Regions from separate parts of the Homo sapiens genome. Here region 2 is linked to region 1. Evidence: promoter capture Hi-C in human tissues and cell types (Jung and others, 2019). All regions are on one chromosome and are shown on one strand. Each heading gives the region's core, a stretch centred on a gene start or on the middle of the fragment in contact. The rest is flanking DNA. Distances are from core to core; before and after follow the strand shown. Region 1 holds the start of TYMS (thymidylate synthetase). Region 2 overlaps COLEC12 (collectin subfamily member 12).

What was found. The method cuts DNA at HindIII sites, captures the fragments that hold promoters and counts their contacts. A contact is called where the count stands out against the background at its distance.
Region 2: a contact is called between a fragment that was not itself captured here and the fragment with the promoter of TYMS in region 1, in 2 of the 25 tissues and cell types used here (mesendoderm cells and spleen).

Annotation. Positions count from the first base shown.
Region 1 is chr18:653,936-658,902 of GRCh38, forward strand. TYMS (thymidylate synthetase) reads left to right here and starts at 3,718. Exons shown (of 7, transcript NM_001071.4): 1 at 3,718-4,012. The coding sequence starts at 3,808. It overlaps TYMSOS (TYMS opposite strand RNA), which reads right to left and starts at 4,356. Exons shown (of 2, transcript NR_171001.1): 1 at 3,907-4,356. RefSeq lists enhancers at 3,442-3,943, 3,944-4,443, 4,311-4,430 and silencers at 3,681-3,860, 4,031-4,080. The HindIII fragment of the contact is 10,369 bases long and covers 1-4,967 here.
Region 2 is chr18:466,463-471,496 of GRCh38, forward strand. The region is part of intron 2 of COLEC12 (collectin subfamily member 12); the gene reads right to left. Among named protein-coding and RNA genes, the nearest start is that of COLEC12, 32 kb to the right of the region's middle. The HindIII fragment of the contact is 6,644 bases long and covers 1-5,034 here.

The sequences.
Region 1 (4,967 bases), core at 2,468-4,967:
CATGAGGAAGGCACCATGATATAAATGTGTGTTAATGAATGAATGAATGAAATTTGTCTGAGAGAACCATTCATTCTAACCAACATTTATGGAGTAACTACTTTGAAAAGAACCATTCTGTCTTTACTATCAAGCCAAGATACTCAAGGAAGGCAGCAGAAGTGGAAGCTCCATGTGGGCAGAGGAGCCTAGTCTTGAGATGTGATTTAGCTGGTATTTGGGTGAAACAAATAAACCAGCCTCAAAATAACACAAGGGGCCGGGTGCAGTGGCTCACGCCTGTATCCCAGCACTTTGGGAGGCTCGAGGCAGGCAGATTACTTCAGGTGAGGAGTTCGAGACCAGCCTGGCTAACATGGTGAACCTCCATCTCTACTAAAAATACAAAAACTAGCTGGGCATGGTGATGGGTGCCTGTAATCCCAGTTACTCGGGAGGCTGAGGCAGGAGAATTGCTTGAGCCTGGGAGGCAGAGGTTGCAGTGAGCTGAGATTCTGCCACTGCACTCCAGCCTGGGTGACAGAGCGAGACTCCGTCGAAAAGAAAAAAAGAAAGAAAGAAAAAAAACACACAAGGATGTGCAACTGATGCAGGGCAGGTGAGCCCAGAATTGGGCTTAGCTCAGGAGGGTTCTTGGTTTTGCTCAGGAAAGAATTTAAGAGCTACCTGGTAGAAGAAAAGCTCTACTGATATGGCAACAGCTCCCTGAGTGCCCCTGTAGAGCAGAGCTACCCTATAGGCAGTGTGCTGACAGCAGTAGCTTAAAGGCAGGTCTGCAGTGATATTTATAACCTACTTTCAATTACATGCAAATTAAGGGGCAGATTATGCAGAAATGTCTAGAAAAAGGGTGGTAACTTCCGGTTGTCGGCTCACTGCCATGGAAAGGGGCAGTAAGCTCTGGATGTTGCCATGACAATCGTAAACTGACATGGCACACTGGTGGGCACGTCTTATGGAAAACTACTTCTGCCCCATCCTTGTTTTGACTACTCCTCAATTTGGTCCCATGTCAGAGCCCTGCCTCCAGAGTCAAGCCCTGTCTACCTCACAATTATTATGTATCAGGTTTTTAAAAAATAACACAAGTAAGGCTGGGCATGGTGGCTCACGCCTTTAATCCCAGCACTTTGGGAGGCCGAGGTGGGCAGATCACTTCAGATCAGAAGTCTGAGACAAGCCTGACCAACATGGTGAAACCCTGTCTCTCCTAAAAATGCAAAAAAAAAAAAAAAGAAAAAAAAATTAGCTGGGCATGGTGGCAGGCGCCTATAGTTCCAGCTACTTGGGAGGCTGAGGCAGAATTGCTTGAACCCATGCAGCGGAGTTTGCAGTGAGCTGAGCACCACTGCACTGCAGCCTGAGGGACAGAGCAAGATTCCACCTCAAAAAAAAAAAAAAAAAAAAAAAAGGAAAAAGAATAACACAAGGAAATTAAACACAGATAACGTGCATCTGGATAATCTGGAATATTTTCAGCCTGGGATCTTCCTCGTGCTCGGAAACGTGTAGGGAAACGTGTAGGGACAGTTTTCAGCTGGTGTGGGGTGGGGGAATGCCAACATATGGTTGGCTTTCCACAGTCCTGCTAAAGCCCTGCAATGTGCAGAACAAACCGGTCCAGCTAAGAAAAGTCCCACCCAAAATGCTGAGAGCACCTCTGTACTCAATCAACCGTTGAGGTAAAAGGATGCTTGCAAGTACAACACATGTATCAGTGCATTTTAAACTCATTATAAAATCGTTCTGTAAACCAAAAATAAAATTCTACGCCCAGAACCATCTGAAAAGACCACTCCTCTGGGTCAAAGGCATTCCAAATTTAACCACAAAAACTAGTTCAGGCCATGATGGGAAGGGGAGCCAGACATGCCTCATTATTCCCTCCTCCGTTTGGAATTTAGGCACAGCTGACCAGCATTGACATCAACACAGGCCTCAAGACAGGTAGAACACACTCTTTAAGTCTGACAAGAAACATTTACAATCTATCTCTCTAAAGCCTGCTACCTGGAGGTTTAATCTGCATGATGAATCCATGGTCTCCACAACCCCTTATCTTAACCCAGATATTCCTTTCTATTCATTCAAATCTTTTTTTTTTTTTTCCCCATACGGCTCTGTCACCCAGACTGGAGTGCAGTGGCGCTTTCTCAGCTACTGCAAGCAACCTCCGCCTCCTGGGTTCAAGCGATTCTCCTACCTCAGCCTCCTGAGTACCTGGGGTTACAGGCGTGTGCCACCTCGCCCCACTAATTTTTGTATTTTCAGTAGAGAGGGTTTCACTATGTTGGCCAGGATGGTCTCAATCTCCTGACCTCGTGATCTGCCCGCCTCGACCTCCCAAGTGCTGGGATTACAGGCGTGAGCCACCGCGCCCAGCCCTCTATTGATTCCAGATCTTTAGATAACAATTCTTTCAACCAAATGTATAAAAAATCAAGTTGTAGCCCAACCACCTTGGGGACATGTTCTCAGGATCTGCTGAGGGCTCTATCACCGGCCATTGGTCACTCATATTTGGCTCAGAATAAATTTCTTCAGATATTTTACAGAGTTTAACTCTTTTCATCAACAGTTCCCACTCCCCAGTGTTAATGTTATAAACAATTCAGTAAAACTGGGAAATGTGGTCTATTAAAAACTTGGGGCCGAGTGCGGTGGCTCACGCCTGTAATCCCAGCACTTTGGGAGGCCAATGTGGGTGGATCACCTGAGGTCAGGAGTTTGAGACCAGCCTGGCTAACATGGCGAAACCCCGTCTCTACTAAACATGAAAAAAAAAAATTAGCCGGGCGTGGTGGCGGCGCCTGTAGTCCCAGCTACGCGAGAGGCTGAGGCAGCAGAATTGCTTGAACCCAGGAGGCGGAGGTTGCAGTGAGCCGAGATCGCACCATTGCACTCCAGCCTGGGTGAGAGAGCGAGACTCTGTCTCAAAAAAAAAAAAAAAAGACCGCCAGGGCTCAAACAAAAAACCTCGGAAAAGCCCTGGCGGTCTTTTTTTTTTTTTTTTTTTTTTTTTTGGGACAGTCTTGCTCTGTCGCCCAGGCTGGAGTACAATGGTCGGATCTTGGCTCACTGCAACCTCTGCCTCCCAGGTTCAAGCAATTCTTCTGCCTCAGCCTCCCAAGTAGCCACCACGCCCAGCTAATTTTTGTACTTTTAGTAGAGACGGGGGTTTCACCATGTTGTCCAGGCTGGTCTTGAACTCCTGACCTCAGGTGATCCACCCGCCTCGGCCCCCCAAAGTACTAGGATTACAGGCGTGAGCCACCGCGTCCAGCGCCCTGGCGGTTTTTAATCAAGTAGAAAAGCTGCATTATACCACTTGCTTCGGTTGCTTCAGTGAGAACGAAGAAATGGAAATGCAAATCCCTTATTAGTTGTAGGAAACAGATCTCAAACAGCAGTTTTGTTGACAAGACCGCAGGAAAACGTGGGAACTGTGCTGCTGGCTTAGAGAAGGCGCGGTCGACCAGACGGTTCCCAAAGGGCGCAGTCCTTCCCAGCCACCGCACCTGCATCCAGGTTCCCGGGTTTCCTAAGACTCTCAGCTGTGGCCCTGGGCTCCGTTCTGTGCCACACCCGTGGCTCCTGCGTTTCCCCCTGGCGCACGCTCTCTAGAGCGGGGGCCGCCGCGACCCCGCCGAGCAGGAAGAGGCGGAGCGCGGGACGGCCGCGGGAAAAGGCGCGCGGAAGGGGTCCTGCCACCGCGCCACTTGGCCTGCCTCCGTCCCGCCGCGCCACTTGGCCTGCCTCCGTCCCGCCGCGCCACTTCGCCTGCCTCCGTCCCCCGCCCGCCGCGCCATGCCTGTGGCCGGCTCGGAGCTGCCGCGCCGGCCCTTGCCCCCCGCCGCACAGGAGCGGGACGCCGAGCCGCGTCCGCCGCACGGGGAGCTGCAGTACCTGGGGCAGATCCAACACATCCTCCGCTGCGGCGTCAGGAAGGACGACCGCACGGGCACCGGCACCCTGTCGGTATTCGGCATGCAGGCGCGCTACAGCCTGAGAGGTGACGCCGCGGGCCCCTGCGGGACGGGTGGCGGGAAGGAGGGAGGCGCGGCTGGGGAGAGCGCTCGGGAGCTGCCGGGCGCTGCGGACCCCGTTTAGTCCTAACCTCAATCCTGCGAGGGAGGGGACGCATCGTCCTCCTCGCCTTACAGACGCCGAAACGGAGGGTCCCATTAGGGACGTGACTGGCGCGGGCAACACACACAGCAGCGACAGCCGGGAGGTAAGCCGCGTCCCAGCGGCTCCGCGGCCGGGCTCGCAGTCGCCCCAGTGATGCCGTGGCCCCCGAGGCGGGCGTCATCGGGCAGCGTTTGCCCAGTGCTGGAGGGTTAGGGAGAGCTGCCTGGGCTTGACCGCGCGCCGGTCTCAAAGTCCTGGCTTTGGCCCCTCCTCCGTTTTCCCCTGTGGACCATTCCGCTTCGCAGCGTTTTCAAAAACTGGAGCGAAAGTGATGTGGGCGGGGCAAAGGCGGCGGGAAGAGGAGAGCACTGAAGCTGGCGCGGGAACTTGGTTTCCTGGTGGCCTCCCATCCAATCCCCACGAACCAGCTTTCCTCTTAAACCTTGAAAAGAGAAATTCGGGAGTTCGAGTATAAGTTCTTAGTCGTCCTTTCCTCTTTCCTTTCCGACAGGAGCACCCCAGGCAAAAAATGTCTCGCGGGTCATTGGCGCCAGGCTTTCAGGGGACAGTGGGGCGGGGCGGGGTGGGCACAGGACGTTAGGCAGCCGTTGGCCCTCCCTAAGGCCACACCGTCCTGCCGTCCTGGATCCTGCGCCAGCTGCGCGGGGGAGGGGACTCGAAGGTGTGTGAGCCAGGGGCTGACCTTGACCGCTCAGATAAATGGAGCGCAGCCTTGACACAGGGGTGGAGGTGGTTTTGAATGGGGAAACCCATTCGTGGTGAAGCAGATTCACTGTAGCTAGCGGAAAAGCCCTCCGGCCCACGGACCCATCTAG
Region 2 (5,034 bases), core at 1,755-4,254, 190 kb before region 1:
GTGTGCTGTGACTTACTGCTTGATTTGGGGTCTAGGCTCTGTCTCCCCAGAATCTAACTATAGAAAATGTTTTTAGCCCACACACAGGCACTTTCAGGGACAGGCTTATTAGATGAGGAGCTTTGGTAGGATTTAAGAAAGCACCTTGAGTGCAAAGCACATTCTAAGCACTCAAACCTGTTACTCTTCCTTTCTCAAATATATGTTGAGCTGAGGAATTGTTCCAGGTACAGTGGTGAACAAAACAGACACCATCTCTGTCCTCATTCAACTTACAATATAACAGGAAAAAAATACAGTTTTTTACAAAGTAAGGAATTATAAGTATGCAAGGAGCTGCTCACTCTTTTATTCCTAAGTCCCTGGCCCTTGAGAACTGAACAAGATGGCCTTATCCCCAACCCCAAAGCCTGCAGAACTTCCTACCGTGTCCAGCCCTGTTTTCCTCCCCTCCCCTATCTCTTCTCTCCTTTAGTACTTCAGGAACTCCAAAATCTTCAGCTCTCCTCAGCTGTGGGTGTACCTATATCCACCCAAGTAGTCAGTAAGGAAAAGAAAAAGACTTTCAATTTATCAGAATACACCCTTTCTAGGTGTTTGCAATTATAAATAGAAAATAAAAAACTCTAATACACTTTCTATTCCTTCTTTCCTTCCTTCCTGCCCTCTTTCCTTCCTTTCTTCCTTCCTTCATTCTAATGCTGACTTCAATTTTCAAAGTGAGGTTAACTATTTCCAAAAAGGCAGAGAATGAGAGAACTGACCTCATGATTTCCCAGCTGGGAAAACGACTCACTTACAAGCTTGTTAAATATATGTGCTCCCACTTTACAGAACCACTCTCTTGGAGGAAGGAAAAAAGCCCCAAGACACAGAGGACCACTGGATACCCTTTTGTGTATATGGATTCTAATACTTGAAAACTAACCAGAAAAGATGAGGGAGTCACAGCTCCCAATGGGCCATCTTCTTAAGAAGGGGCACAGCTAAAGTGATTTTCCTCTGTTGGTAACTGGTGGGTTTATGTTTTTTGTCCAATATGTTTTTCATTAGCATGAGAAATACCAAGAAAAATTTCATATGATAAATGTAAACAGATTAATGAATTGAGAGAAACTGCCAACTGTCTTCAGATTGTTAATGGAAACATTATGCTTTCTATTAAATTTACAGACACCTGCATTTGAATAATTAGCTGCTTTTATGAAGCTTGGAAGGAAAAGAATCTTCCATGTTTGAGTCTAGAGATCTGGAACAGAGTTCGTTCAAAACATGCCTAGAAAATGCTTCAATACTCATAGAGTTATACGAAAACAACTTACAGCCAAATGGAAAACCAACAGTCTTGAGATTACTAAGATTTGTGAACAAAATTAATACAAGTTTTCCATCTGACAATTTTTGCCAACTAAATTTTACATCAGATACCTGGGAAGATAGATCCATAATAAAGATACAAAATATTTATTTTGAATTGTTGGAATAAGGAAGAGTAAAAAATAATATATTTTAAAAATCAGGCCGGGCGCAGTGCCTCACACCTGTAATTCCAGCAATTTGGGAGGCCGAGACAGGTGGATCACGAGGTCAGGAGTTCGAGACCAGCCTGGCCAATATGGTGAAACCCCATCTCCACTAAAAATACAAAAATTATCTGGTTGTGGTGTCATGTGCCTGTAGTCCCAGCTGCTCGGGAGGCTGAGGCAGGAGAATCGCTTAAACCCGGTAGGCGGAGGTTGCAGTGAGCCGAGATCGCACCATTGCACTCCAGCCTGGGCGACAGAGTGAGACTCCGTCTCAAAAAAAAAAAAAAAAATCAAATGCAGTAGCAGAATAGATTCTTGAACCTTGAATCACATTACATAGATGCAAACCCATAACACTGTATAGCCTAAAGAAACCTTTGAAATCATCTACCCTAACCCTTTTATTTTGCAGAAGGGCTTATTTGAGACCCAGAGAGTTTATATCATTTTGCAAAATTCACATAGCTAGTTAATGCATAGCAAAAGAAAGGCTATAATTCTGATCTCCATGCTTCCAATTCAGAAGTCTTTAAATAGCCAAACACACACACACACACAGAGTGTATATTCACATATACATATGAGAGACACAAATGAAATGCTGAACTCATTTTTTTTGGTAAACTTTAATTCCCCATCTTTGTCTTTCTCTCTTAGTAAATAATGAGCATTTATGGAGTACCTTTTAAGTGCCAGGCATTGTGCTAAGCACTCCACTTGCATTAGTTCATCCTCACAATGTCCCTGAAACATAGGTAGTCTTGTTATCCCTCGTTCCATAACAAGAAAATTTAAAGACTGGCGGTGCAAATTTACTTAAGGTTATTTGGGCCCTCTGAGATCTTATTCACGGACTTCACTGTTTATCGGAGGTACATTTTAATCTATCAAGAGTGGAAAAAATAGCAAAGGTTTCTGAACCACATTATTACACTCTTTATGAATTGTGCTTTAAGTGAACATAGCTGCTATTAATCAGCAGAGTGGCTTCACATGGCAGCAGTTTAGTAACAGCTGTGGCCGATGGCGTGCGCAGCACATGGAAGGATGCTGCCTTCCAAACTTCTTTTACGAGTTTATATCAAAACAGATTCTCATACCTCATCCCCAACCTTTTCTGCAGGACAAAGGAAAGGGACTTCATACAAGTTCTCTTCACTTGCACAGACGGAAAGAGGTGGGGGCAGAGGGGCGTTCCCGACCTTATTTGGAAACCATTGAAGCTTTGCCAGTACTGAACCTAGAACACCACCAGACAGAAGGAAGAGAGGGCTCACAGTACATCTGGCACGTAGTGCCCTCTATTGTGCCTGTGGAAATTCTGCGGGTGAGAGAGGAGGCAGTTTGTAGGTTGGCTGATATTTTTCTTTTATGCAAATACACCGCTGTTTGAAAAATCTATTTTTTATTACATGTGAAATTCCCAGAGGCAAAAGGCCACGTCTCTCCTCTTTATTGTCCATGGTGTCCAACACATTATGGATAGGTAGTAAACGTCACATCACTTTGATATGCAGGACTAAGAATGACCCTTTCCCAAGAGTCCTGCTTGCTTCTATTTCTCAACAAGCCTCATGAGGTGCATACATCTCCCAAGAAAAGGGAACTGCTGAAGGCCTGCATCTCTTCCCCAAATTTCCATGAATGTTGCACTCACTTCTTCCCTGGGCTAATGGACTCCCCCGCCCCCAACTGTTTTACTGGTTTTTTACTCACACCTGCAGAATTTATATGTGGATCCCTGACACCCTACTTCCTATCATTTTCAGCACAAAGTGGGAGCTTCTGATTCTACATATACTCTATGACTCTGTTTGGGAAGCCTTTGATGAGGCCTCACTGCCAGCATGGACATCTTTAGGAGAAAATTTTTACTTCCATAAAGATTTTTTTTTTATAACTTTTGTTTTCCAAGAAATTGAAACAAGATGAATTAATAAGTATTGATGTTGGCAAATAAAATGATCAAGTGGGAATTTTGTTTTATCCATCTTTGTACCACAGTTCATGGCATATGGAAGGCATTTGGTGAATGTGTATCAGAATTATAAGTATTCATATTTCCCCTCAATTATTTCCAAAAGCAATTCAATCATAAGACTTCTATGTAAACCATGAGGTGGGACAATCATTATATCTTAATATTTTTTATCAGGCAGGGTGCAATGGCTTATACCAGTAATCCCAACACTTTGGAAGGCCAAGGTAGGTGGATCACTTGAGGCCAGGAAATTTTTTTTTTTTTTTTTTTTTTTTTTTTTGAGACGGAGTCTCGCTCGGTCTCCCAGGCTGGAGTGCAGTGGTGCAATCTTGGTTCACTGCAACCTCCGTCTCCCAGGTTCAAGCAATTCTCCTGCCTCAGCCTCCCAAGCAGCTGGGATGACAGGGGCCCACCACCATGCCCGGCTAATTTTTTTTTTGTTTTTAATAGAGATGGGGTTTCACCATGTTGGCCAGGGTGGTCTCAAACTCCTGACCTCAAGTGATGCACTCCCTTTGGCCTCCCAAAGTGCTGGCATTACAGGTGTGAGCCACCACCCCAGAGGCCAGGAATTTAAGACCAGCCTGGGCAATGTAGCAAGACCCTGTCTCTAAAAAAAAAAAAATTTTTTTTTAATTAACCAGGCATGGTGATATACGCCTGTATTCCTAGCTACTCAGGAGGCTGAGGTGGGAGAATCACCTGAGTCCAGGAGTTCAAGGCTGCAGTGAGCTATGATCATGCCACTGAACTCTAGCTTGAGTGACAGAGTAAGACCTTGTCTCTAAAACAACGAACTAAACATCCAGATGCTTTTAACAAGGGGAACAATATAGTTATTTCTTACATATTTAAACTGCTGTGGAAATACTGATCTTAGGTTGAAGGTTTGAGATCTTACATGTCAGCAATAATTTTACTTTTATATTTTCCCGTTTCACAGAATGAGAACGACATGTTAGAAAGGTTATTTCAAATATTAGAGATTACAGGGCATCTTCAGGCCTTGGGAATAAGAATGCAGTCTGGATTTCTGCCAGAACCTTTGCAGACTTCTGAGTTTGATTCTCTTGTTTTCCTGACAAGTCTAAATTCCTGCACCTTCTGCAACATGTGAAAGAAATTGATCTGTGCATGGAAATATTCACACTTATAAAAAAATACAACTACCAGAGTGTATAAAAAGAGGAGCATGTGTCAATCACGGCCAAATGTCAGTATTCAAAAACCTATAAAAGAATAAAAATAAAATATCAGAAGAAGCAGAAAGCGTTTATAGTGATGACTCAGACCAGGAGACCAATTTCACAATGTTTCATTGTGGCAAGAGCTGTATTCACTAAGATTTGGAACTTTCTCATTTTTTTTCTTTTTTTTTTTAGTTCCTCTTCCAAATTTTTTTTCTTCAAAATCTGCTTAAGACTATAGAGAATACTGAGCCAGAAAACAAAATGACTTTTGTTCATTCATTCACTTCTCTATTATGCTGATGTCTTGTTTTTGATGTCTTCTCTTTTTATAAACTGT